Regions from separate parts of the Homo sapiens genome. Here regions 1, 2, 3, 5 and 6 are each linked to region 4. Evidence: promoter capture Hi-C in 16 types of primary human blood cells and fetal thymus (Javierre and others, 2016). All regions are on one chromosome and are shown on one strand. The core of a region is centred on a gene start or on the middle of the fragment in contact, and the rest is flanking DNA. Distances in the headings are between cores, read along the strand shown.

What was found. Contacts are between HindIII fragments. The CHiCAGO score rates a contact against its expected background, and 5 or more counts as called.
Region 1: a fragment that was not itself captured here is called in contact with the fragment with the promoter of PDIA6 in region 4 in 7 of 17 cell types (naive CD4 T cells, total CD4 T cells, fetal thymus and 4 more); the score reaches 7.7 in naive CD4 T cells.
Region 2: a contact is called between a fragment that was not itself captured here and the fragment with the promoter of PDIA6 in region 4, in 2 of 17 cell types (M0 macrophages and endothelial precursors). The highest score is 7.0, in M0 macrophages.
Region 3: a fragment that was not itself captured here is called in contact with the fragment with the promoter of PDIA6 in region 4 in 1 of 17 cell types (M2 macrophages); the score reaches 5.0 in M2 macrophages.
Region 5: a contact is called between a fragment that was not itself captured here and the fragment with the promoter of PDIA6 in region 4, in 1 of 17 cell types (total CD8 T cells). The highest score is 5.6, in total CD8 T cells.
Region 6: a contact is called between a fragment that was not itself captured here and the fragment with the promoter of PDIA6 in region 4, in 1 of 17 cell types (megakaryocytes). The highest score is 5.0, in megakaryocytes.

The regions. Positions count from the first base shown.
Region 1 is chr2:11,447,917-11,452,026 of GRCh38, reverse strand. It overlaps E2F6 (E2F transcription factor 6), which reads left to right. Exons shown (of 7, transcript NM_198256.4): 4 at 221-376; 5 at 1,901-2,015. Among named protein-coding and RNA genes, the nearest start is that of E2F6, 16 kb to the left of the region's middle. RefSeq lists a silencer at 2,439-2,700. The HindIII fragment of the contact is 6,201 bases long and covers 1-4,110 here.
Region 2 is chr2:11,411,117-11,415,212 of GRCh38, reverse strand. All of the region lies in intron 2 of LOC105373429 (a long non-coding RNA gene), which reads right to left. Among named protein-coding and RNA genes, the nearest start is that of LINC00570, 19 kb to the right of the region's middle. The HindIII fragment of the contact is 4,524 bases long and covers 1-3,616 here.
Region 3 is chr2:11,381,688-11,386,137 of GRCh38, reverse strand. LOC124907734 (a long non-coding RNA gene) reads right to left here and starts at 1,137. Exons shown (of 2, transcript XR_007086217.1): 1 at 391-1,137; 2 at 1. The HindIII fragment of the contact is 2,707 bases long and covers 1,258-3,964 here.
Region 4 is chr2:10,810,481-10,814,380 of GRCh38, reverse strand. It overlaps PDIA6 (protein disulfide isomerase family A member 6), which reads left to right and starts at 1,596. Exons shown (of 13, transcript NM_005742.4): 1 at 1,596-1,703. The coding sequence starts at 1,685. RefSeq lists a silencer at 1,294-2,043 and enhancers at 2,534-2,593, 3,580-3,689. The HindIII fragment of the contact is 7,767 bases long and covers 1-3,900 here.
Region 5 is chr2:11,775,929-11,780,455 of GRCh38, reverse strand. LPIN1 (lipin 1) reads right to left here. Exons shown (of 21, transcript NM_001349206.2): 6 at 4,263-4,370; 7 at 811-937. Among named protein-coding and RNA genes, the nearest start is that of MIR548S, 11 kb to the right of the region's middle. RefSeq lists an enhancer at 329-1,528. The HindIII fragment of the contact is 643 bases long and covers 2,720-3,362 here.
Region 6 is chr2:11,599,136-11,603,170 of GRCh38, reverse strand. It overlaps GREB1 (growth regulating estrogen receptor binding 1), which reads right to left. Exons shown (of 33, transcript NM_014668.4): 16 at 2,176-2,371; 17 at 629-765. Among named protein-coding and RNA genes, the nearest start is that of MIR4429, 60 kb to the right of the region's middle. The HindIII fragment of the contact is 4,830 bases long and covers 327-4,035 here.

The DNA.
Region 1 (4,110 bases), core at 778-3,277, 640 kb before region 4:
TTTTGAAAAAGACTGTATAAGATGAAGAACTATAAATAATTTATGTACAGAAGGAATAATGGCTGTCTAGAACAAAGACGGCAGAAGTTAAAAGTCCCTAGTTTCTATTGTTGTGGAAAACACTTATGGCAAACATTTGGAGAAGTTCCAATAACCTAACTTGAAATTACTTTGTTATCTCCTAGTTGGTATTGATGCTGACATTTTTTTTCTTCTAAAGAGGATCTGATCTTAGCAATTTTGGAGCAGTTCCCCAACAAAAGAAGCTACAGGAGGAACTTTCTGACTTATCAGCAATGGAAGATGCTTTGGATGAGTTAATTAAGGATTGTGCTCAGCAGCTGTTTGAGTTAACAGATGACAAAGAAAATGAAAGATATCCTTTAAGTCTATACCTTTTTAAAATTTCTGCTTCCAAAACAGATTACTTAAGTAGTAGAGTCAGCTTGGGGACTTAATTTATATATTTAAGATATAAAATTAGACCATTGAAAGTTAAATACAAAATTAGCCAGGCGTGGTGGCACACATGGCTGTAATCCCAGCTCCTTGGGAGGCTGAGGCAGGAGAATCGCTTGAATCTGGGAGGCCGAGGTTGCTGTGAGCGGAGATGGCGCCATTGCACTCCAGTCTGGGCAACAGGAGCGAAACTCCGTCTCAAAAAAAAAAAAAAAAAAAGTTAGGTAAAAGTTGGTAGTAGTATAACCTCAAACATACACAAACAGTAGGTTTTTTAACTTCTGTGTGGCATTTCTTAGATTAAATTCTGGATGATGACCTCAGGGGTACAGTACCAAACCAAGGTTGATGGTACCACTTAAAATGGTGAGTATTCATTTTTATAGTCTGAATACTATAAGGATAATAAAATATTTGTTGGCTTTTGTGAAGTTCATGTTTTTCCTAGAAATTTGTGAATGGAAGTTGATTTCTGAAACAGTGAATTGCCATTGAAGTGGTGCTTAAACTGCCATTTGTGTCCACAGAAGCGCGTTGTTGCTTAGTAGCAGTTTTGCTTTGAAACTCAGTGTCTCAGGGAGCTGGGGGGTGGGGCTGGGGGAGCCTTGTCTTTGGTACTGACCTCCTGGGTGTCTTAAACCTATATGCTGTGCTGTTCCCTGTGGCACCCTTTGAGGGGCTCACTGATTCTGAGCTATCCCATACCTCATATTTACTTAAAACTCTCTCCAGCAGTCAAAAACCTCTATTCCCACAGTACAGGTACTGGAAGGAAAAGAAAAAATAAGCACCAACATTACTGCAGCCAATCAGAAAAAAAAAATGCTAGAGAAATCCAGTAAATCACTTAATTGGTAAAATTTGAGGCAACACAGTGAGACAAGACGAAAAAGACTCAGGTAGTGAGATGGAAAATAATTTTGGATGAAGTAACATCATACATGATAGTCTTGAGAAACTTAATCTCTAAGTCGTTTATGCCTTTTTATAGATTTTTTTCCATCTTTCATTTTAGGGGATTCTTGTCAAAGCCCTGAGTGTTTTTTCTCAAAGTTATAGTAAGATCTAGCTTACTATACCTGAAAAGGGAATAGGGTGAAAATTTGAATTTCTTTATGTGGTGTATTTGTGTTAGGGACTCAGACTTTATTAATATTTTTCTCCAGAAATTGCCATCATAATCATAATAGTAGAGCTTAAAGAAACTCTTTAGGTTGTGTTGTAAATATTGTAAAACCCTTCATAAAAATCTTAATTTTATGTGAATAATAAAGATTATCAATGAATTTTTTTTTTTTTTACTGCTTTCCTTAATGGTGAACTTGTATCTCATAAAAACTAAAAACATTCTAACATTACCCTTGCGTTAACTGAATTACTAGAGATAAATTACCTCCCCAGTAAACAGCATTCTGTGTAGAGATCCTTGACTGAGTTTTACACTAGCATATGTGACCTATCAAGACATTCATAGCATTCAGGCCTTCCATGAACAGATCGTCATTGCAGTTAAAGCTCCAGCAGAAACCAGATTGGATGTTCCAGCTCCCAGAGAAGTAGGTAACCCTGCATTTTTAAAAAGATTTAAAGAGGGATGAGGGCCGACTGCTTAGGCTGTGATTTATTGCAGTCATACTTAAGAGCCGTTGTGTGCACGTGCACTGTACATCCGATACTGCTCAAGGCACTTCACACATTTAACTTGCTTCAACTAACACAAGTCAAGTAGTCATTATTATCTTAAAGATGAGGAACCAAAAGCTCACAAAGATGAGTTAACTTTTTCAGGATCACCAGAATTCAAACCCAGTTAGTGTGGCTTCATAGTTTGCTTTTCACTATTGTACTGCAGTGCTTCTTAGAAGAATCACCAAGAATTGGCCCATCTTAAAGTTGCAAAAGTAAGGTCTGGTGTCAGCCAAGGCACTGGGGAATTAACAAACTCTTGAAAGACTGATGAATAAACCAGGACGCTAGGTTCTGAATTTAAAATGGAAAAGTAGGATTTCTGTGTAAATGAACATTATTTTTGTCAGCCGCCAGCTGCTCAGTGCGTTCTTTCCCTTGCAGAAAAATTTGCATTGAAAGATAATTGCATCAGAAGGCTGCTTGATGAGGACAGAATCAGAACCAAGGAATGTGGCCATTCTTGGGACACATCCTCAAGACTGACAGCCTTGATAGACCCATCGGTGCTCACAGTGCAGCCCTCTGCATTGCCCTGGGGGTTTGCCTCCTGCCTAGCGAAGAATATTTTCTTGACCTGTTTTTCCTTTTGTCCCCAGCAGACCACTGTTCAAGTGAGCCCTGTATTACTCCACAGTGTATGGGGTAAGGGCTGGCTTTCATTTACCTCAGTCACACTCAAGTTATGATTTCTTGGTGATGTTTCCTAGTTGTTTTATTTTTAAGAAACTGCCAATCAACACATCTTTACTTTGGGGCATAATAATTCATTCTGCAGAGACTAATGGATTTTTGGCTTTTCCCTATGCTGTGAGCTGCTTCAGACTGTAATTGCTAAATCTGGCTGAGCCTTTGATCATACCTGAGGCTTCTCTTAGAGTCCTATTTAAAGTCTCTGCACATGGGCCCTCTTGGCCAGAGCCTGACCGTGAAGATCTGGGGACCTAGTGTGATGGGTGGCAAACTGGCCCTCAGGTCAGATCCGGCCTGCTCCTTTTTCTTAGAAATAATTTGATTAGGACACAGCCACATGCACATTTGTTTACATATTGTTTCTGACTGCTTTCATACTATAGTGGCAGAGTTAAAAGGTTGTGACAGGGATAGTGTGACTTGCAAAGCCAAAAATATTTACCATCTCAGCCTTTATGGAAGTTTGACAACACTTAATTTAGTGGAATGTTATTGTTAAGAAATATCTATTAAATTGTACAGGATTTATCATTCAAACCAGTTGTGACCTGGCACTCTAGAAGCTGAGCACAGATGTTCTCTAGCCCACTTGTAGTACCAGGAAGTCATAGCAAGGGCAGGTGAGGCTCTGAGACCGTCTGAGAGGCTGCATCTCCACAGACTCACCCTGGTATAAGATCACAATGAGGTGTGGAGTGGGAGGGAGCAGTGGTGTATGTGTGTCTAGCCCAGGCCTAACTGCATTAAAGGGGAGAAAACAGACTTTGTTATAGTTGAAGCAGCTCCCAATTAAAGCAATCATTTATAACTGGGGCTGTTCCTTAAGAATTTAGCATAATTCCCAGTAGAAGCACTGAAGTTGCCTGATACCTTACGGAAAAAAAGTATTTTGATTAATCCTGAGGAAATCTGAAATCAAAGGATGTGAATATCATAATGAGTTAATTAGTCCTTTATAAATAATGTAAACGATTTTTTTGACATTTTACTTGAGATATATTTTGATCTTTTCCTGTTCTTTCAACTGGACAAAAGAATGGCCCTTCCATTATCTCAAGACCTGTTCATTGGTCTGGAAATCCAAGCACATATTTATCCTGTGAGACTCTAGGGTATTCTGGAGTTCTGTGTCATCAAAACACTGATTTTTGACTGAAATACGGCCTCCTTGAAGGGTCAGCTCCTGAGTAGAAAAAGACAGGCTCTTGAGTACTGAGGTTTTCACATGATAGCTCTGAAGCCATTACTGCAGGATCACATGTAGCTGTCTTC
Region 2 (4,096 bases), core at 105-2,604, 600 kb before region 4:
ACCGCACTCTAGCCTGGGCGACAGGGCGAGACTCAGTCTCAAAAAAAAAAAAAAAAAAGAAAAACAGGTAAAGCAAAAAGCAAAACAAAAAATTCTCTATTAAACGTCAATGTTCCTGGCAGACACAGGTGCCCATATTTACCTGTTACAGTGATAGAGGATCCAGGAAGTGAAGTAGCATCACTTCACTGTCTTCCCTGCAAATCCTGTTTATACCAAGTTTTATACCGCTTTGCTTTGAGCAAATTCATCTGCTGCTGCTAAACTGCTGCCTGCCCCAGAACTCCCACTTTCGAACAAGCCTGTGATTGCTTTGCAAAGACTCATTTCCAATTCAGATTCCTAAGATAAGCTGCCAGTCTTCTTGGGGTCTTCCGTCTCACGGTTTTATGTCCGGCCAGCAGCAGGCCTAGCCCTCTCCTGTTGCTCAGTGAATTTCAATGCGAATCTTCTCTTTTCTACTTGCATGACCGAAAAGACCCTCAGAGACCAGCCAAGCCCATCATTTTACAAAACAGAAAACCAAGACCTAGGAGAGGAGAAGGCTCACAACCAGGTGTCACAATGTATTACAGAACGGAGCTCCTCTTTCCATAAATAGTTTTCTCCTCGTTATTCCTGCATCGAGCATGTGTTCCAGACTGCCTGCTTGACATCTCCAGATGGATGACTAATAAGTTTCTTAAACTTAACTTGTCCAAGCAGAACTCTTGATGCCACCCACCCAAATGTGTTCTTCCCCCGGTCCTCCCAATCTCAGTTAATTGCCCAGTTGCCCAGGCCAAAAACCCAGGAGTCATATTTGATTTATTTCTTTTTTCTTTTTCTTTTCTTTCTTTCTTTTTTTTTTTTTTTTTTGAGACAGAGTCTCACTCTGTCACCCAGGCTGGAGTGCAGTGGCGCAGTCTCGGCTCACTACAATCTCTGCCTCCCCGGTTCAAACGATTCTCCTGCCTCAGCCTCCCAAGTAGCTGGGATTACAGGCGTGCGCCACCACATCCAGCTAATTTTTATATTTTTAGTAGAGACAGGGTTTCACCATGTTGGCCAGGATGGTCTCGATCTCCTGACCTCATGATTCGCCCACCTCGGCCTCCCAAAGTGCTGGGATTACAGGCATGAGCCATGGCTCCCAGCCGGATTTATTTCTTTTATCTCACTTCCTACATCCAATTAACCAACACGTCCTGTGGCTCTGTCCTCAAAATACAGCCAGAAATTGCCTACGTCTCACCACTACCAAGACACCAGCACCTCTCAGAGGGCTTCTATTATAAAATAGCCCCCCACTGAGATTCCCTGGCTCCACACCTGTCTTTCTTGAGTCTTTTCTGCACATAGTAGCCAGAAGGGAAGTTTTGAAACCGTAAATTAGATCACTTCACTCTTCTACTGAAAGGGCTCCAACGGTTGCCCATCTCACAATAAAATCCAAACTCCTTACCATATTCTTTACACAGTGTACCCTGCCTACTTCTTGGGCTCCATCTCCTCCTACTGACTCCCTAGCACTCTGCAGTCCTGTCTCTCTTGGCCTTTTTGCTTTTCCTGGAGCGCACCAAGCTCATTTCCATCTCAGGTCATTTGCACTTGCCGCCTCCTCTCCTGAAATGCTCTCCACCCACATCTTCACATGGGTTGGTTGTTGTCTTCCTTTATGTAGGTTTCTAACTGAACCTACCTTGACCAGTCTTTCAAAAAGAGTACACCCCAATCACTCCAATTCTTTATCCTGCTTTACTCTTTTTTTTTTTTTTTTTTTGAGATGGAGTGTTGCTCTGTCACCAGGCTGAAGTGCAGTGGCACAATCTCAGCTCAACATCTGCCTTCCGGGTTCAAGCGATTCTCCTGCCTCAGCCTCCCCAGTAGCTGGGATTACATGTGCCCACCACCACACCCAGCTAATTTTTGTGTTTTTAGTAGAGATGGGGTTTCACCATATTGGCCAGGATGGTCTCAATCTCTTGACCTTGTGATCTGCCCACCTTGGCTTCCCAAAGTGCTGGAATTACAGGCATGAGCCACTGCACCCAGCTTTTTTTTTTTTTTTTTTTTTTTTTTTAGACAGAGTCTCACTCTGTTGCTTAGGCTGGAGTGCAGTGGTGCGACCTCAGCTCACTGCAACCTCCACCTCCCAGATTCAAGTGATTCTCCTGTCTCAGCCTCCCAAGTAACTGGTACTACAGGGATGTGCCACCATGCCTGGTTAATTTTTTTGTATTTTTTCGTAGAGATGGGGTTTCACCATGTTGGCCAGGCTGGTCTCAAACTCCTGACCTCAAGTGATCTGTCTGCCTCATCTTCCCAAAGTGCTGGGATTACAGGCGTGAGCCACCATGCCCAGCCTATCCTGTTTTACTCTTCTTTATAGCACCATCTCCACATGAAATCACACCACACATGTTCATGCACTTGTTTACTGTATGTCGTCACTGCTGTTCCTGAAGCTCCATGAGGATGGGGTCTTAGCCTGCCTTGGTCCCTTGCTTTATCCAGGGTGCCTAAAACAATGTCTATCGCATATCAATCACATAGCAGAATGTCTATCACAATATTTATTGAATGACTGAATCAGCAAACTCACATATAAAATTTGGGACAATCCAAAACTTTTTGAGAAACAACTTTTAGACTCAACACACAATGGGTGTACGTATCCTTTTTTAGCACATGGCTCATGTAGAGGCCATTTTATCTGTGATGGATTTACCACAGGGCCACAGTGCTTACAAAGAAGAGAGAGAATTGAACATTCTAAAGCGCGTTTAGCGCAAGGAAGGTCCTGCCTGGGCACTGGAGTTCTGGGTGGGACTTTGTTTTCCTGCAGCATAGTAAGGTACTGACAGATTCAGACTTTGGTGCATTCCCAGGACATGTGGCTTCCAGCAGAAAGGTGGGTCATTTCCAAGCAGTCGAAGCATTTCGTCTGTGCGACACAATTTAGAGCCCTTCCAGAATCCATTTTCTCAGTGGACCTCCAGGAATTCCCTGTCAGGAAAGAGTCAGACCTGCAGGGGGAGCTGATAGCATGCGTCCATCCTGGAAAGCCTCAGAAAATGGGGGTCCAGAAATCTAGCTATTCCTTCAAGTGGGATGGATTTAAAAGGTTATCGAATTTTATAAACATCCAGGATATTATTCTCTTACTCCTGCCAGAGGCTGAGAAATTGAAAGATTCTTAAGACTCAAAATCGCAAGTGGTCAAATTGCTTTTATACAGCCCGTATACGGCAGGATTTTATCGGAACTCTGGGGCCACTTCCTCTTCAAGGATAGATTTGAGAGTCCCTTATCTCCTTGTCTACAGACGTTGCCAAGGTGGTGGCTCCAAATGATGGTGAAGAATGCACAAGAAACACTGTCAAAATTCTGCCTCAAAAACACAAGAAGCCAGCTCTCATTATGAGATAGAAACTCTTGTGGGTTTATTGAGAGGACCCCAGAATTTCGCTTCATGCAAACAAGAGCAAAACCATGTGACCGTCCTGTTCAGAGGCCGAAAAATACTCAGCAAAATGGAAATCACTGTATTAATCTTTGTTTATTCACAAATAGCCAGGTCAGAATTAATTATCAAACCTTGCTTCTAAGTTCACACCAGGAACTCCATTAAGCTTTCCTGAAGCTGGTTTTTTTTTTGTGGGTCATAAAGTTTGCTTACTCTCAGACTCCAGTCCTTCAAGGCAACCCCTGGCAATGACAAAGAGTCCTAGTTCCCATCCCACTGTCACTCTAACAAGAGCCAGAATAGTGAGAAGGAAAAGGGGGTGGTTCCTCTCCGCCTGCTGTCCTGTGTTAGATCTGGGAAAGGGCAGGAGGAGACCTTTGCTGAGAGTGGTGGGCCTGGGACTGCCTCCAAGGCAAAAGTATTCAAGTCTTCACAGTGGCCTCAGCATCTCCTTTTCAAGCTTGTGAATTCCTGGACTTCTTTCTCAAGATCTTAAAACCAAAACAGCATATAGAAAAATACATTTTTCAAGGTTGCTCATTCCTTGTCCACACGGTAACATCCATGTCAGTGTATCTGATTATGTGCTCAGATCTCAGCAAGCTGTGGCTGCAAAATAAGGATGCATCTAGATTGTAATGACTTGGA
Region 3 (4,450 bases), core at 1,362-3,861, 570 kb before region 4:
TCTGTAAGGACACCAGGCATATTGGATGAGGCACCCACCCGACTCCAAGATGACCTCATCTCCACTTATCACATCTGAAACAACCCTATTTCCAAATTAGGTCACATTCTGAGGTCCTGGGGATCAGGACTTCAGAGCATGAATTTGGGAGCTGGAGGGACACAATTCAGTCCCTAACAGAGGGCTCTCCTTTGTGAATTAGTCCAGAGGGACAAACAGACCCACAGGCTGGTAAGCCCAGACATTTCCCATGTGTCTTTGGCAACTTGACATATAACATTATGGATCAATGAGAAAAGGATGGTCTAGTCAATAAACAACCCGAATAACCCAGCAATTTCACTCCCAGGCACATACACTCAGCTCTAGTTAGCAAATGTGACACCGAACCTTGTGTGAGAATATTCATTGCAGCATTGTTGATTATCTCCCAAAAAATTATCTGTAGGAGAAAGAGCATGTAGGAGGTTGTTACAGGCCAAAATAAATGTGCCCCCCAAAATTCATATGTTGAAGCCCTAACCCAGCACTCTCAGAATGTGACTGTATGTGGAGACAGGGCCTTCAAAGAGGTTGTTAAATTAAAATGAGGTCATTAAGGTGGGCCCAGATTCCATCGGACTGGCATCCTTAGAAGAAGAAGCCATTAGGAGAGACACATACAGAGGGCCGGCCATGTGGAGACAGAGGGAAAGGAACCAGCCTGCTCACACCTTGGTCTTGGACTTCAGCCTCCAGAGCTATGAGAGAACTACTTTCTGTTGCTTAGGCCCCACAGTTTATGGTACTTTGCTAAGGCATCCCTAGCAAATCAACACAGTGGTATATGTAGAAAGACATGCATAGAAAAGATAAACACCAGCTTTAAAACAGTGGTTACCTCTATAAGGAAGTGAGATGGGACCAGAGAGGGGTACTTAGAAGACTTGGACTATATTTGCAAAACTGTAGTTTGTAAGCTGAGTGGTGAATATCTGGACATTTATGTTATTCTTGCCATTTTTTATTATAAACCCACAGTTACAGGTAAGTGTGACTGCTGTCTGAGTGACCTCTCCTTTCGAGGCAGCCTGGCGTAGAGGGGCTCTAACTATAACTTACTGGGTGACCTTGGGATTGTCACTTCTCTCCTCTGGCTTTAGTTTCTATAACTGGAAAATTTGAAAAATGAATTAATTCAATGTTTCTCAAAGAGTGTTTCATGGAACACTAAGAGTGTGAGATTTTTAAATATATATTCTATACCAAAGAAAAGCTTACCTGATCAAATAATTTTAGGAAGCATTAGATTATCAAAGATGTAATCACCTTGTTTTACTGCAGAAATCTCAAAGACTTTTAATGAGTAGTTAACAGGGGGCTATGGTATGTATACAACAGAGTCCTCTTTTCAAAGAATAGCAATCAGTTTCTTTTTTCTGTTCATTCAAATAAAAGCTCATGTTCCTGATGGTTTTGAAAGAACATCAGTACTTTTCTGCGTGGGCTACTTTATGTAAATGCATATATTTAAAAAGTTTAGGCCGGGCGCAGTGGCTCATGCCTGTAATCCCAGCACTTTGGGAGGCCGAGACAGGCAGGTCGCTTGAGCTCAGGAGTTTGAGACCAGCCTGGGCAACATGGTGAAACCCTGTCTCCACGAAAAATGCAAAAATATCAGCCAGATGTGGTGGCATGCACCTTGTAGTCCCAGCTACTTGGAAGGCTGAGGTGGGAGGATCGCCACCAGGAGGTGGAGGTTGCAGTGAGCCGAAGTCACGCCACTGCACTCCAGCCTGGGCAACAGAGCGAGACACCATCTCAAAAAATAAAACAAAATAAAATTTAATTTTTTTTAAAAAGTTTAAATGACAAGACAAAACAGATAGCTGTCTTATATGCGATAGACCATACAGTGTGAAACGGGGCATTCTTTTTTTTTTCTTTTGAGAAAGGTTCTGTCTCCATTGCCCAGGCTGAAGTGAATGGTGTGATCATAGCTTCCTGGAGCCTCAGCCTCCCAGCTTATGCGATCTTCCCACCTCAGCCTCCCGAGTGGCCAGGGCTACAGGTGCACACCACCATGCCTCACTAATTTAAAAAAAAAATTTTTTTTATAATAAGCTAGGTGTGGTGGCACATGCCTGTAATCTCAGCTACTTGGGAGGCTGAGGCAGGAGACTTGCTTGAACCCGGCAGGCGGAGGTTGCGGTGATCCGAGATCATGCCATTGCCCTCCAGCCTGGGCATCAAGAGCAAAACTCTGCTCAAAAAAAAAAAATTATAAATGGGATCTTGCTATGTTGCCCAGGCTGGTTTTGAACTCCTGGTCTCAAGTCATACTCCCATCTCAGCCTCCCAAAGCGCTGGAATTACAGGCATGGGCCACCATGCCTGGCCAATAAGATTTTCTGTATGTTACATGGACTCTAGTTTTGCAAGATTTTAGTAAGTATTCCATAAAGAAAGAGAGCTGTAGTCAAATAAGTTTGGGAAATATCGGGTTAAGTAGTTATGTTTTTCTTCTTCTAGGACTTGTTGGAGGCTTTAATATTCTAATATTATCATACATTTCTGAAAGAAGGGTAAGGGTGCAATATTCCCCAAATATATGTATGGAACATTTTACTGTAGAAGTTATATAGAACTAATGTTCTGAGAAACACACTTAGGTAAATGGCACTTAACATATTGTGGTATATCTTGTAATGTGTATCATGCCATTAAGTATCTTTCATTTTTATCTTTTTATTTTATTTTTAATTTTAATTTTTATTTTTTTGAGATGGAGTCTCACTTTGTCACCCAGGCTGGGGTGCAGTGGCTCCATCTCGGCTCGTTGCAACCTCTGCCTCCCAGGTTCAAGCAATTCTCCTGCCTCAGCCTCCTGAGTAGCTGGGATTACAGACACATGCCACCACGCCTGGCTAATTTTTGTATGTTTAGTAGAGATGGGGTTTTGCCATGTTGGCCAGGCTGGTCTCAAACTCTTGACCTCAGATGATCTGCGCGCCTTGGCCTCCCAAAGTGCTGAGATTACAGGCATAAGCCACTGCGCCCAGCCCATTAAGTATCTTTTAAGTATGGTTTTTAATGGCTGCACCCTTCCCCAGTGTCTGATGATGCCAAAGTCCTGGAAGTGGAATTAGAGGGTCGAAAGGAATAGGCCTTTTTAAGGCCTTTCATAGGTGTTGTCTAATGCTCTCCAAGAGGCTAGTAATTCACTCTTCTGACCAGCACTGGGTGTTACTATTATCTTTTCAAATTGACACTTTGATTTGGTACCTTAGTAGTAGTTTGATTTGAAAAAAATTTATTTTTTGTTAGCTTTGTATACTAGACGTGGTAGTCAGAATAATGACCCCCCAAAGATGTCCACATCCAGATGCCCAGAACCTGTGACTGTTTTACCTTACATGGAAAAAGGTACTTTGCAGATGTGGTTAAGCTGAGAATCCTGCAATGGGAAGACTAGACTGGATTATTTAGGTGGTCCTCCAAGTGCATCATGAGAGTTCTTATAAGAAGGAGGCAGAGATGTAGCAGAAGATGTGACAACAGAAGCAAGAGATTAGAGTGATGTGTGGAAAGGGCCACAGGCTGGAGAATGCAGGTGACTTCTAGAAGTTAGAAAAGGCAAGGGAACAGTTCTCCCCTCGATTTCAACCCCTTGAGAATGATTTTGGACTTCTCACCTGCAGACAATAAGGGAATACATTTGCAGGGTTTTAACTTAGTTTGTAGTAATTTATTACAGCAGCAATAGGAAATGAATACAACAGAGTATCCAAAATATGTAAAGAATTCCCATAAATCAATAAGGAAAAGACAAACCATTAGAAACACGGTCAAGAGATCAGAACGGATCCTTCACGATCAGATATGTGATTGGTCATTAAGCATATGAAAAAGTGCTTAGCCTCATTAGTTACTAGGGATATGCAAATTATTTAATAAAACCACATTCACCAGAATGAATAAAGCTTAAAAATCTGATAATAGCAATTGTTCATAAGGTGTAGAGCAACAGGAGCTTTCTCACAGTGAGAATATGAACAGATGCAGTCACTCTGGAAAACAGTTCGGCTTTATCCACTAAAACTGAAGACAGACATACCCTACATCCAGCAATTTTACTCCTAAGTAAGTATTCACCAGAAACGTATGCTTACCAAGAGGCCAAGAGGCATGTGGAATATTTAGAGCAGCATTATTTATAAGTACCCCCAAGCTGGAAACAACTTAAACTTCCATCAGAGGTAAAGTAATAAAAATAATTATGGTGGACTCACACAATAGAATACTATGCAGCAAGGAAAATGAAGGAACTACGTACGGTTAATGCAACAATGTACGGATTCTCACAAGCGTAGTATGCAGCAAAAGAAAGCAGATGCAAAAGAATACACACATTCGATTCTAAGTATAAAAAGTTGTTTTGGCCGGGCGCCATGGCTCATGCCTGTAATCC
Region 4 (3,900 bases), core at 347-2,846:
GTACCAAGCTGAGGATTTCTGTCCCGGGACAAGCAGCCTCCCTGGGGAAAATCAATGCTGGCATGTGGCTTCCAGGAGAGGCCCCCGTGACTTCAGAGGGCTGCTGTGCCTCTGAGTTCAGTTTGCCTGAAAAATCTTCCAAACGCAGCTCTAGTGCCACTTCCTCCAGGAAGCCCACCAGCCGGCCCCCACCACTCCTGGACCCCTGCCTAAGAATACTTATGCCTTACACACTACAATATGGAGAAATTACTAATACAAAAACAAAATGTCCGAGTCCACTCCAAACATAGGAGGGAGAATCAAGGCGGAAAGATACAGTGGTCTTAACTTGTGCTTGAAAGATTTTACTTTTAGGTCGGGCGTGGTGGCTCACAACTGTAATCCTAGCATTTTGGGAGGCCGAAGCAGGCGGATCACCTGAGGTCGGGAGTTCGAGACCAGCCTGGCCAATATGGAGAAACCCTGTCTCTGCTAAAAATACAAAAATTAGCCGGGCGTGGTGACATGCACCTGTCATCCCAGCTTCTCGGGAAGCTGAGGCAAGAGAAACCCTGTCTCTGCTAAAAATACAAAAATTAGCCGGGCGTGGTGACATGCACCTGTCATCCCAGCTTCTCGGGAAGCTGAGGCAAGAGAATCGCTTGAACCCGGGAGGCAGAGGTTGCAGTGAGCCAAGACCCCGCCTTTGCACTCCAGCCTGGGCAACAAGGGCAAAACTCCATCTCAAAAAAAAGCAAAAAAATTTTTACTTTTGCCGGGCGTGGTGGCCCATGCCTGTGATCCCAGCACTTTGGGAGGCCGAGGCAGGAGGCTCACTGCAGCCCAGGAGTTCAAGGCTGCAGTGAACTGTATCATGCCACTGCTCGCCAGCCTGCCCCACAAACATATTTTTTTTCACTTTTGCATATTTTACAAAGCACACACCCACGTGAGCGCATTGCCAGCCCCCTCGCCCCCCAGGACAAAGTGGAGACCCTGTCAGCGAGGAGGCTACCGCTTAAGTCCCTGGGGTTCTCCAGAGAAGGAGGAGAAGGCTCTGCAGAGCCATGCGCCCTGGACGGAAGAACTTTCAAAAGTAATTCAACAAAATAGAAACTTGTCGAATTACATTGCAGACAGCGCGTGCGGAGCAAATGTGTGTCCACGGAATATTCGTCGGGCACAAGAGGAATTCCCTGTCAGCTCCCAGGACCGTGGGTGCCCTGAGGCCGAGTCACGCTCCCCCGGGATAAAGAGGGTGGGGGCGCACACAGGCAAGGAGGAGGCGGGGTGGGGGGGTGCAGAATAAGGAACTAAGGTAAAAACGCCCAGTACTGGACTCCCCTCCGAGCAGCACCCCGAGAGGGCCCGGAGGAGCTGAGGCGGTGCGAGCCGAGACTGCCAGCCCCGCCCCCAGCAGGCCCCGCCTTCCGCTGCTCGCCACCGCCCCCGTGAAAAAAAACCAAACCGGTAACCTCTACCCGGCCGCCTCCCATTGGATATGTGAGTGAGCGATGTCCGCCCGGACCAATGAGCCGCAGCCACGGCTTGGCGAGCGCCTTCCGGCCCGCCCCCGCGCGGCCGCCCCTCGGACCACCGGACTGGCCTGGGGCGGGACGTGGGCGCGGGGGCGCGGCGTGCGGCACGCTGCAGGGCTGAAGCGGCGGCGGCGGTGGGGACTGCACGTAGCCCGGCGCTCGGCATGGCTCTCCTGGTGCTCGGTAGGTGCGGGCCAGCGGAGGGAGGCGGGCGAGCTGGGGTCGGCCTGAAAGGTTTCGAATCTCTAGGCCGTTCCCCGGCGGGCCGCGGCCGCAGGCGGCCGGAAGTGGGCCTGGCGGGCGGGAGGCGCGGGCCTCGGCGTCCGGAGGAGCTGCTAGGTTGCCCCGGCGGAGGTGCGGGTGCGCGGGAGACTCGGGCGCCCGTGGGGAGGGGCTTCCGCAGCCGCGGGGGGCGGGAGCCTCGTGCGCTGGAGCCGGGCGCGGGGTCCAGGGCCGGGCGGGAGAGCCGCGGAGCCCAGCCCCGGCCGGATCCCGGGGAGGGGGTCTGTATTCCCGGAGAGTCGCAGGGGAGCTTGTTCCGGGCTCTTCTCGAACTCGTGCGTGGGGACGGAGGTTGGCGGGCGTCCTGCACTGCTGCTTGTTTCTGCCACCTGCTTTATGCAGCTCCTACTTTTAAAAACTGAAATGTTAAGCCGGGCGCGGTGGCTCACACCTGTAATCCCAGCACTTTGGAAGGCCGAAGCGGGTGGATCATCTGAGGTCAGGAGTTCGAGACCAGCCTGACCAACATGGCGAAACCCCGTCTCTACTAAAAATACAAAATTAGTCGGGCGTGGTGTCGCGCGCCAGTGATCCCAGCTACTCAGAAGGCTGAGGCAGGAGAATCTCCTGAACCCCCAGGAGGCGGAGGTTGCAGTGAGCCGAGATCGCGCCACTCCAGCCTGGGCAACAAGAGTGAAACTCTGTCTCAGAAACGAAAAACTGAAATGTTAAATCTCAGTCCTGAAATAAGGACCCATAGTTCCCTTAGAAAGGGACAGTGCCTTCCAAAAGCTGGGCTTAAGACGCAGGGGCGCTTCGCATGTGATCGGACTCCTTAAAAACGAAATGGAACGCGGCGTCTTAGGAATTCTGTAAATGTCTGCTTCTTAGTGGGCGAGGCCGAGGGTCCTGTCCTTGCCGGGCTCGCCTTGGTCACAGCCTTGGCTCTGACAGTCCTTAACCTCGGCTCTGGCCTCAGACCACCTTCCCCCTATTTACTGGCTCTGTGACTTGGAGCAAGTTACTTAACCACTCTGTGCCAGTGCCTTTTCAACGGTGTTCACCATTTTAGGGACTGATAATAGTACTCCCTTAGGGTTGTCCTGAGGATTAATGAGTTAGTACATGTCTTTCTGTTTTTTGAGACACGGTCTTGCTCTGTCTCCTAGGCTGGAGTGCAGGGTTTCCATCATAGTTCACTGCAGCCTGGAACTCCTGGTCTCAAGGGATCCAGGCACATGCCACCACACCTGGCTAATTTTTAAATTTTTTGTAGAGTCAGGGTCTCATTGTATTGCTCAGGTTGGTCTCAAACTCCTGGCCTCGAGTGATCCTCCTTCCTCAACCTCCCAAAATCCTGGGATTACAAGTGTCAGTCACCTGGCCCAGCTAGTACATGTTTTAAAGAGATGTAAATATTTGCCATATTACTGTGGAGAGAGTAGATGAGGGGAAAAGAGTTTAGTCTGTTTAGTTTCCTGTGAGTGAATTCAGACTAGACCCTGAAAGAGTCCGTGAGTCTATTAATTAACTCATTTTAATAAATGGCAGCCTTTCTGGGAAACCTCATGGTTTCTAGATGACTGCTCTGGGACTGTAGACTCCTCCTAGCAGATGTGGGACAGAGATGTTACTGATGTGAATTTATAGCATCCTTAACTGCCATGGAGGAATGGAAAACCACAGATGGCAGAGCCATCTGCTCACAGAGATTCTAGACACTCACTCGGATGGTCCAATTTCCCATTGGTGTTCATTATCACTGAGTGGAATGGTGATGTGAATTTTAGAAACAGAACGTCATTGGTCAGCATTGACCTACTTTGTCATCTTAAGTGAGCCCAGGGTTTTTTGTGTTCTTGGGGGTTGGAGGTAGTTGTTGGCTACTTTTATGCATTCAGAATGTCCACATCTTTTGTCTGTTCTTTCTCAGTAGTATGTTAGGTTTCCTTGTAACCCTGCTAGGTCACATTGCCTTTTTAGGAATTTTAGTCTCAAACCTTAATCAACACAGCATTTTCATTGGGTAGCCGTGTACAAGCAGAGGAGGCTCTTGTGAGAACTAGGCAAAATTTAAAGACAAACAAAGGTCCCTCACCATTACTAGAAAAAAGAATAACCCAAGTCTATCTTAATACTGTCAGTAAAGAGCGTCTTT
Region 5 (4,527 bases), core at 1,792-4,291, 960 kb before region 4:
CTATTAGCCTTTCCCTCTCCCAGGGCTCTCCCAGATGTCTCTCTGTGTGAGGGACACAAGAACATGTGGATTCCAGCTCTTACAACTCAGCTTCTTTTTCAATGGGCCAAGAGTCCACAACTCTCTCCCTGTGGCTTTGCTCCACTCATCAATGACCTAGCAGACTCAAGAGCTGGAAGCTATTTTTGTTTACAGTTTCAAGACAGCAAGATTGTGTGTAAGTTGTATTTCTTTAATTTAATTTGCATTTAGCTGTGATAGAAAATGTAGATCCTGGCTGGGCACGGCAGCTCACGCTTATAATCCCAGCACTTTGGGAGGCAGAGGCAGGCGGGTCACTTGAGGTCAGCAGTTCAAGACCAGCCTGGCCAACACGGTGAAACCCCGTCTCTACTAAAAATACAAAAATTAGTGGGGCGTGGTGGCATGCGCCTGTAATCCCAGCTACTCGGGAGGCTGAAGCAGGAGAATCGCTTGAACCTGGGAGGCAGAGGTTGCAGTGAGCCAAGATAGAGCCATTGCCCTCCAGCCCGGGTGACAGAGTGAGACTCTGTCTCAAGAAAAAAAAAAAAAAGTAAATCCTAAGAGGAATCCCATAGGTTTAAAATCTACAAAAGCAATGAGACCTCTCTATAATGTTGGTAACGTGGAAGAAAGTAATTCCAACATTCAAGGCTAACCCTTAATATATTTTGGTTTACCTCTGGCTCCTGGTAGCTGTGTTTCTTGGCTATGCTATGATACTAATTCCATGTAATTTAAGCTGAGTTAGAAATCTTCGGTCCGTGGCAGAATTGAAGAGACTCTCACCTTAGCAGCCTGCGGCAGCTCTCCCCACAGCCAAAGCATTTCTGGGTTCTTCTGCCCTGTCCTTTCCGTGGACTTGCTGACCAATTCTGAATCACTTTTAGGTGTTGAAGGTCGGGAACCGGAAGGACTTAAGGAAAACACAAAGCGAAAATTAAGGTGGGAAAAGAAACTTTTGTAAATGTTTTGGGCCCAGCTCCATGGCTCAAATAGCCCAGAAAATGCACCCCCAGCTGTCGTTCGCTCTGAGCGGAGCCTCATGACAAATCCCTCCTCCGGCCACCAGGGGGCAGGGAAGCGCCTCCCATGGAAGGCGCTCCACGTGGGTCGCCCGCCCCACCCTGCCGCCTGGTGCACCGCGGGGGAGAGGAGAAAAAGAAGTGGCCCAGAATACAAAAGAAAGAGATGGAAAGAGAAAGGGAAAAATAGTCTGTTCTTACCTCAAAAAGACCACCCTTCCCCACCCCACTCTGCACTCGCATCTCCTGCAATCTGTTTCCAAATCAAGTTCCTCTGCTGTCAGAGGGCTGCAAAAGGGTCTTGGTTGGCTCGGGCAGGCACTCATTAGAGTCCATATTTTAAATATTTATCATCTGCACTGGCCTGGGAAACAGGGAAATTATATGATGTGCCAATTTTACCAAAGATGCTGGATGCCACAAATAAACTCGATAACGTTGGGCAGGAGCCTACAAGTTGAAATTTTCTAAGATCTTATGTCTTCCAGGAATACTTCACAAGGGACTCACCAACTGGTTAAGGCTCGCTCAGTAACCACCTCCATGTTTCCTGAATTTTTACTCTGAAGACCCAAACAAGGTCTTACTTCTGCCCAGCCAAAGTAACCATCCAAAAGTCATTAACTTATCCACAAGATCCTCACCATATTCTAAACAACTTAGAGAAATATTATTTACAGCAGCAATTCTTGTAATTATTTATTGCCGCATAATAACATGGTTAATTATTGCTTATTTTCCCACATCATTTCCTCTAGAGGAAGGCGGCAGGGTTTTTCAGACAAAGCAGGAAATAAAGCTTTCAGTTTCCCTTGCCGTCTTCTTTCCCAGACCTTATCTATTCTTCGGAAACTGATGCTTCTGGTCTCATTTACCTAGAGTTCAACTCCAATTGAATATAACTTTCCTGTCAATACAAGGTGAGTTCATGATGATACATAACTTGTATCCAACAAACAGGGACCTTGTGGGCTAAACTGATCCTGAATCTCTTTGATCAAGCTGCATAGAGCAGCCAGACCAAGTGCCATCTCTCTCATCTCACACCAAGGGGCAGAGGGTGGTCCCTGCTCCCTTGGTGCCCATGACTCCCAGCCCTTCTAATGACGTGCTGCCACGGGGCAGCCTGCACGCTCTCTTTCGCCTGCCTGGGGAGAGGAGGCTCCTGACATCACATTAGGAGAGCTTCTGCAATGGGACACCCTGCTCCCAACAGACACACATTTCTGCCCTTTAGGGAGCAGTCCTATAAGAAGGCACGTGGGCCCCCCCACGTCCATGTGGGAAAGGCTCCTGGCCTTTCAACCTCCTTGCTCTTCCAGTTCCACAACTGGACTTCTCCAAAGAGACAACGCTTTGGTGGCACTGAAGCGTCTACAGTCACGTGTTCGGTATCACTGCAATGGGAAAAGCGCAGGCTGTGGCCTCCAGCGAGGGGCCTCAGTACCTACAAGTGTGACCGCAATCCACTCTTTCTCCAGCATCATCATGGAATAAGTCCATCAAAACCAACTTCTCACCCTCAACGGTGCTGTTCCCAAACCTCAAAGTATCTAAAAAGCTCTTGCCATTCTGTTTCACCAGACAAAATAGAACATATTTGGCTATAAGTTCTTTGCAGCAATAAATTATCTCACTGTCACTAAATGAAATAAAGTCCTTTAGACAAAGCTTGCTCCGAACAGGGGTCGGCAAACATTTTCTGTAAAGAGCCCAGTGGCAGATATCTCGGGCTTTACGGGTTTTACGACGTCTGTCGCAACCACTCGCTGCTGTGGTGGTGTGAAAGCAGCCACAGCCAGTATGTAAACCAACTGCCTATGCCCGGGAAAGTCTGACAGAGGCAGATGGTGGACCAGATTTGACCCATGGGCCGTGCTTTACCAACCTCTGCTCTAGAAGAACGAAATGCGGAACACGGTTCTCCTGCAGCAATTCCCAACTCCAGAGTTCCTAACATTCTGGTCCCTTCATAAAAGCCACGAGCCACAAAACCCATAGAGGCACTCAGGCGTGCAACTCACGCATAAGGAGCCCAGCCCTACGAGAAAGTCTGCTGCAAGTCCCTCCCCAACAGCAAACAGGCCACCACCATAAATGCTGCCCGTTCAGGCCACAGCAACCCTTCTCCAAAGGTCTCGTGCACAAACACAGATGCGCTTTCTGCCGACCGTCACTGAGGGAATTCAGACAGACCAAAAAGGACGCAGGAATGGGGCCCACTGCCAAGTGGGATTTACCAGAAAGATGACTCCAAAGTGCTCCGTCATGAAATATTATTATTTTAAGATCAAGGGTTGTTCAAAAAAGTAAGCTTACAAGGTCAATGACTGATGTTCATAAACAAGGTATTTATTAGCCTTATCAAAGTTTTCAGTATTTTTGCCAGTCCCAATAAGGCTAGTTAGTTTTAACTATTAACAACTTTGTTTTCCTCATTTTAAACGGACTTTTCTTCTGCAAATGTAGCCTCTGAATGAAGTACATCCTGAGGTCTGGATCTTTAATCAAAAAGACAAAAGGTTTTCCACGTACAAATTAATCGTAGCTTCATTTGCTAAGGCTTACAAAGTAAACCATGTAAGTCCACAAAGTAGGTAGGTCAAAACTGAGGGAATGAAGGCAGAAATCTGAGATGACTACATCGAGTGAACACACCAACCTTTGATCCTCAGCCTGAGACCCAGCCCAGGCCATTCTCCAAGATTCTGTTCTAGAAATGCTGTGGAAAGTGTCTGACTCCATTATTCAGACAGCCCAATAAACTACTTAAATGTTTATAATAAATTAAAGTGGTATTCCAAAAATATCTTGTAAACTTATTTGTCAAACAACCCGAGACAGAAAACAGAAGATCATATTCCCAAGCTATATTTCATTATTCTCATTTTCAAAGCACTTCACAGAATTAGGTAAAATTATATGCTTAACCATAATTTCCAGAGAGTCAAATTTAGGAATTAAAAAAAAAAAAAAATCTGATCATCTACAAATGCTTATAACGAAAGGAAAAGAGTAATCTATATACATATTTTTCATAAGTAATTTGGTTAGTGAAATCGATTTGTAAAAGTTAAATCAAAATTTTCACTTCATATAATCTACAGGTATTTTCTTCATAAGTAATTTGGTTAATGGTAAAATAGACTTATAGTAAGAGTTAGATCAAATTTTTCATTATTGAATATATCCCAATGGGGAAAATAACTCCTCTACCTTTCCGAAGGATGGAACAGGGAAGACTGTGGAGGGCAAGAACTAGACAGACCTCCCTCGGCCGCAACTGCAAGATGAGGGGCAGTCCTTTTGCAATCTACCAGGCTACTGGATACCACCACGTGATACACATTAAAAGAAAGACAAAATCAGAGGTCAATTACATCAAGTGAGATTATATAAAGTATATGTAATATACTTTATATAAAGATTATATATAAGATTATATAAAGTATATATAATATACTTTAAAGACTATATATAA
Region 6 (4,035 bases), core at 1,492-3,991, 790 kb before region 4:
TTTCATCTATAAAATGAGGTCTGTTGCGACAGGGTTAAAGGGGCTGGCTGTGCAGTCAGATTGACTCTGGGTTCTCACCCAGTTCTGTCACTTGCTAGACACGTAGCCTGAGAAAGCTATGGGGCCTCTCCAAGCCTCAGCCTCTTCATTTGCAAAGTATGAATAACAGTAGCAAGTGGCTCAGAGAGGCAGTGAGGATCAAATCAGATAATGAAAGTAAAGTCCATGGAAGAGTGAACGGCACAAAATAAACATTCAATACATGATATGCATCGGAAATAAAAACAAAGCTGACTATGATCATCACTCCAGTTTCTTTTAAAGCTTTGTTATCTTCCTCCCATTTTCCTACCCTCCATTGGCTCAAAAACATAATTCCACATTCCAGCATATTTCCGCTCATTGTCATCTCTAAAATTTTCTAGAGCAACAGGATGACAAAGATATCGCTGACCCAAAGGGATTCAAATAGAGGAGAAGGAAAAAACCAGGGTACATTTAGTGGAGAAACTGAGTTGCTCAGGAAGGAAAGGCCTCCCTTCCTGGAATTCCCTGGCTGGCTAAACGCACCTCAACTTGCCCTTTAAGCTACTGAGCACTTCTAGTAACTTAGAAGAGAAACAAGTACCTTTTTCCTAATGCAGTGACCATGGCCTCAAAGGAGCTATCGTATCTGAGCAAGGGGAGGCTGTGTCCTGAAAGGGTGGATTCAATAAACTCCGACAGCCCGAAGTACTTCTTATTTTCATGATATAAGTCCACTCCCTAAAACAAAGAAGAGCGTCGGTCACTCCAACACTGCATTCGCAGGGACGGTCAGAGGTTCGTGTGCCAGGCCTGCGGATGACCTGGGTTGGCAACTTCATCCAAATCGTGCCCACTGTGCAGTGGCTTGGATGGCATTTTATAAACTTCTTCCATCTGCAGAAGCAGAGCAAAGTACCTCCCATACTTTAAAAATGGTGTGTCCCCATTGCTCAGGAGTTTTCCATTCATTTGGTCCCAATGTTTTTACCAAGAAGAAAATCAGCCTTATCTTATTTTAACATATACATTTCTTTGTTAAATTTGCTTCTTTCTACAATCTTAAGCTGGTTTTAGGAATGGGCAAATCAATTATTTTGCATTCAGTTGCTACTAAAAATCAATAGACAAAGAAAACATTTACCTAGCCAATTTTACTCACACAGACATAAAATTCCAAAGTTGGGGGAGTTTGTTGAAAATATTAAGGCATGAAAACTCTACTCCTAAATAGCACAGTGGTTAAGGGCCGAGCCATGGAGCCAGTGGCCTGGGTCATATCCTAGCTCCACGACTTTCTAGCTGCCTGGCCTGAGCCAAGTGGCCCAACTCTTGTTGGCCACTTTGTCTCATGTTCCCCATTTGTAGATGAGAACTCATCCTAGCACCTGCCTCTTGCATGAGCTCACAGCACGAAGCACTTTGGGCAGGGCTTCCCTGGCCTATGGGAAGTGCCTTATGAACAATGGCTATCCCCACCATGGATTCTCAGTCCACAGGACGGAAGCCAGGTATTTTTTAAAGTTTCTCAGAGGATTGCGAGGCACTCCAAAAAAGTCTCATCTCTTACGTTTACTTATTCTTGTGTAACTAACTACAAACCACCCAGAATTCTCAAATTACCAGGATTGTTTTAGTCTTCTATTTTGATGAGAAAATGTCAGGTGATAAGCTAAAAACTCATCAAGTTTTGAGGATATGTGTTCAGTTTGAGGAAGGAGATTCTGAATCTCACTACTTAAGGATGCAGGGATAGGGAAAACAGGAACCTTCCTAGGGCTTCTGGAGACATTAAGCGTTGCTCTGTATGGAGCCCAAAGCCCCCAGCGCCTAAGGGCTCTACCTTCAATATCTCCATTCAATGCCATAGAACAAACATTCCACATGCTGCTCAGAAAGCGGCAGTCACCAGAGAAAATGTCCCACAAACTGCATTACATCTTCCGAGATGAGGAAGCCAACTGGCGTACTGCAGGAAGGTTACCAAAAAGACCAAGAAGGGTTTACAACCTAACTCTGGGTTGAACCAAAGATCCAAGGAGCTGGAACCCATTATCCTCAACCACACTGGTCAAGGCTGTTACTAAATGTAATTTCTGCAAACCCAAGTGATATTGCTACACAAGGGCCCAGCAGCCCCGTGGCACTCACATTACTGCAGGAGGCAGGCCAGTGGATCTCGTTGTAGGGGCTGATGAGGGTGTGCTGTGTCTGCAGTGCATACGGGAAGGAGGTCACGTGAAGTGTCACAATGTTGGGGGCCTCCTTCACCTCCCTGCAGTTGAGCAATCGGTCCACCAATCCCACCGACGGGTCACTTTGAGAATAGAGGTTATGAACAGTGCTACTGAGGGAGGAGAAGACACAATCAGTGGAATTACTATATTGTTTTCTAATTTTGCAAGGTGAAGCAGTTGAATAAATTTATAACTAACCCCTGACTTTACCAACGACTAAAGATTATGGCTCTGCCCCTGACTAAGAATAGAGAAAATAAAAAAGGCTGGACTTCAGGTAGCTGTCAGGGGCTCTCCTGAGATTCGTTACTTAGGAAAAATGTGTCTGGCGTGGGACGGTAGTCAGAGAGGATTTCTTACAAGACACACACTCCTTCTATCCCAATCGGACAGTGATATGACCCTGGGGATGTTCCATGAATCATTTGTTCCTCTTTGGCCCCATCTGATTGTGTACTTATCTCCTTACACAGTCCTTCTGACCTTGAAATGATCCAGAAAAGATGTAAAAGAGTAAATTCTATAGTCAGTTTAAAAGGCAGCAGGAAAGGATTGGGAAGCATTTTGGACAAGGGGTCTAGGAGACAGGCCCAGCTCTGCACTTTTCCGTGGGACAAAGGCCTTTGCATTCTCTCCTGTAAGTTTAGGGGATTAAAAAAAAAAATCAGTGCTTAACCCTTTGGATGGCAGGAGGCCACTCTGAGAAACCTATTCCCAAAATGAATATTCACAATACAGCTCTTTCTATAATTTCGGAATGTTCCGATTTCCCCCAAGCCCACACATGGATTCTGGATTGTAAACCCTTTACGAGGTCCTTCATGTCCTGACCAGCCTAACTAGCTATCTGTGGATCTGCGACAATCAAAGGCTTTCTCCACGACCTGGCCCAGGAGCCCCCTCCTTCCTCATCTACATCAGTGGAAATGTCTGAAGGTACAACCCCTAGGCCAGTCTCACGGAGATGACCAATCCCGGTAAACCACCAGAAATCCTGCCAGGCGCTTGGCTTGGCCCATCTGAAATTCATCTGGGTTTATGTTCATTTTAACTGAGTGAGTCAAATCACCCCTTAAGAAGGGCAGGCATCAGCCGGGTGCGGTGGCTCACGCCTGTAATCCCAGCACTTTGGGAGGCCGAGGCGGGCGGATCACGAGGTCAGGAGATCGAGACCATCCTGGCTAACACGGTGAAACCCTGTCTCTACTAAAAATACAAAAAATTAGCCAGGTGTGGTGGCAGGCGCCTGTAGTCCCAGCTACTCAGGAGGCTGAGGCAGGAGAATGGTGTGAACCCGGGAGGCAGAGTTTGCAGTGAGCGGAGATCGTGCCACTGCACTCCAAGCCTGGGCGACAGAGAGAGACTCTGTCTCAAAAAAAAAAAAAAAAAATACAAAAACGAAATTAGCTGGGCGTGGAGACAGGTGCCTGTAGTCCCAGCTATTCAGGAGGGTGAAGTGGGAGAATGGCATGAACCCAGGAGGCTGAGCCTGCAGTGAGCCGAGATCGCACCACTGCACTCCAGCCTGGGCGACAGAGTGAGACTCCGTCTCAAAAAAAGGAAAAAAAAAAAAAAAAGAAGGGCAGGCATCAGTGGTGACCCACGGTACCAGAGCCCCCACGGAGCCTCTTTCAGGGAAGGGCTAAGCTGAGCTACTCCTGCTAGGACCCTCCGCACCCCACACCAGCATGGCTCCTTGTTGCTGAGTGGACTATGAAAGAAACACATCAGGCATCAGGCTGTGATTCGGGGTCTCAGCTCTGCCACTAACACC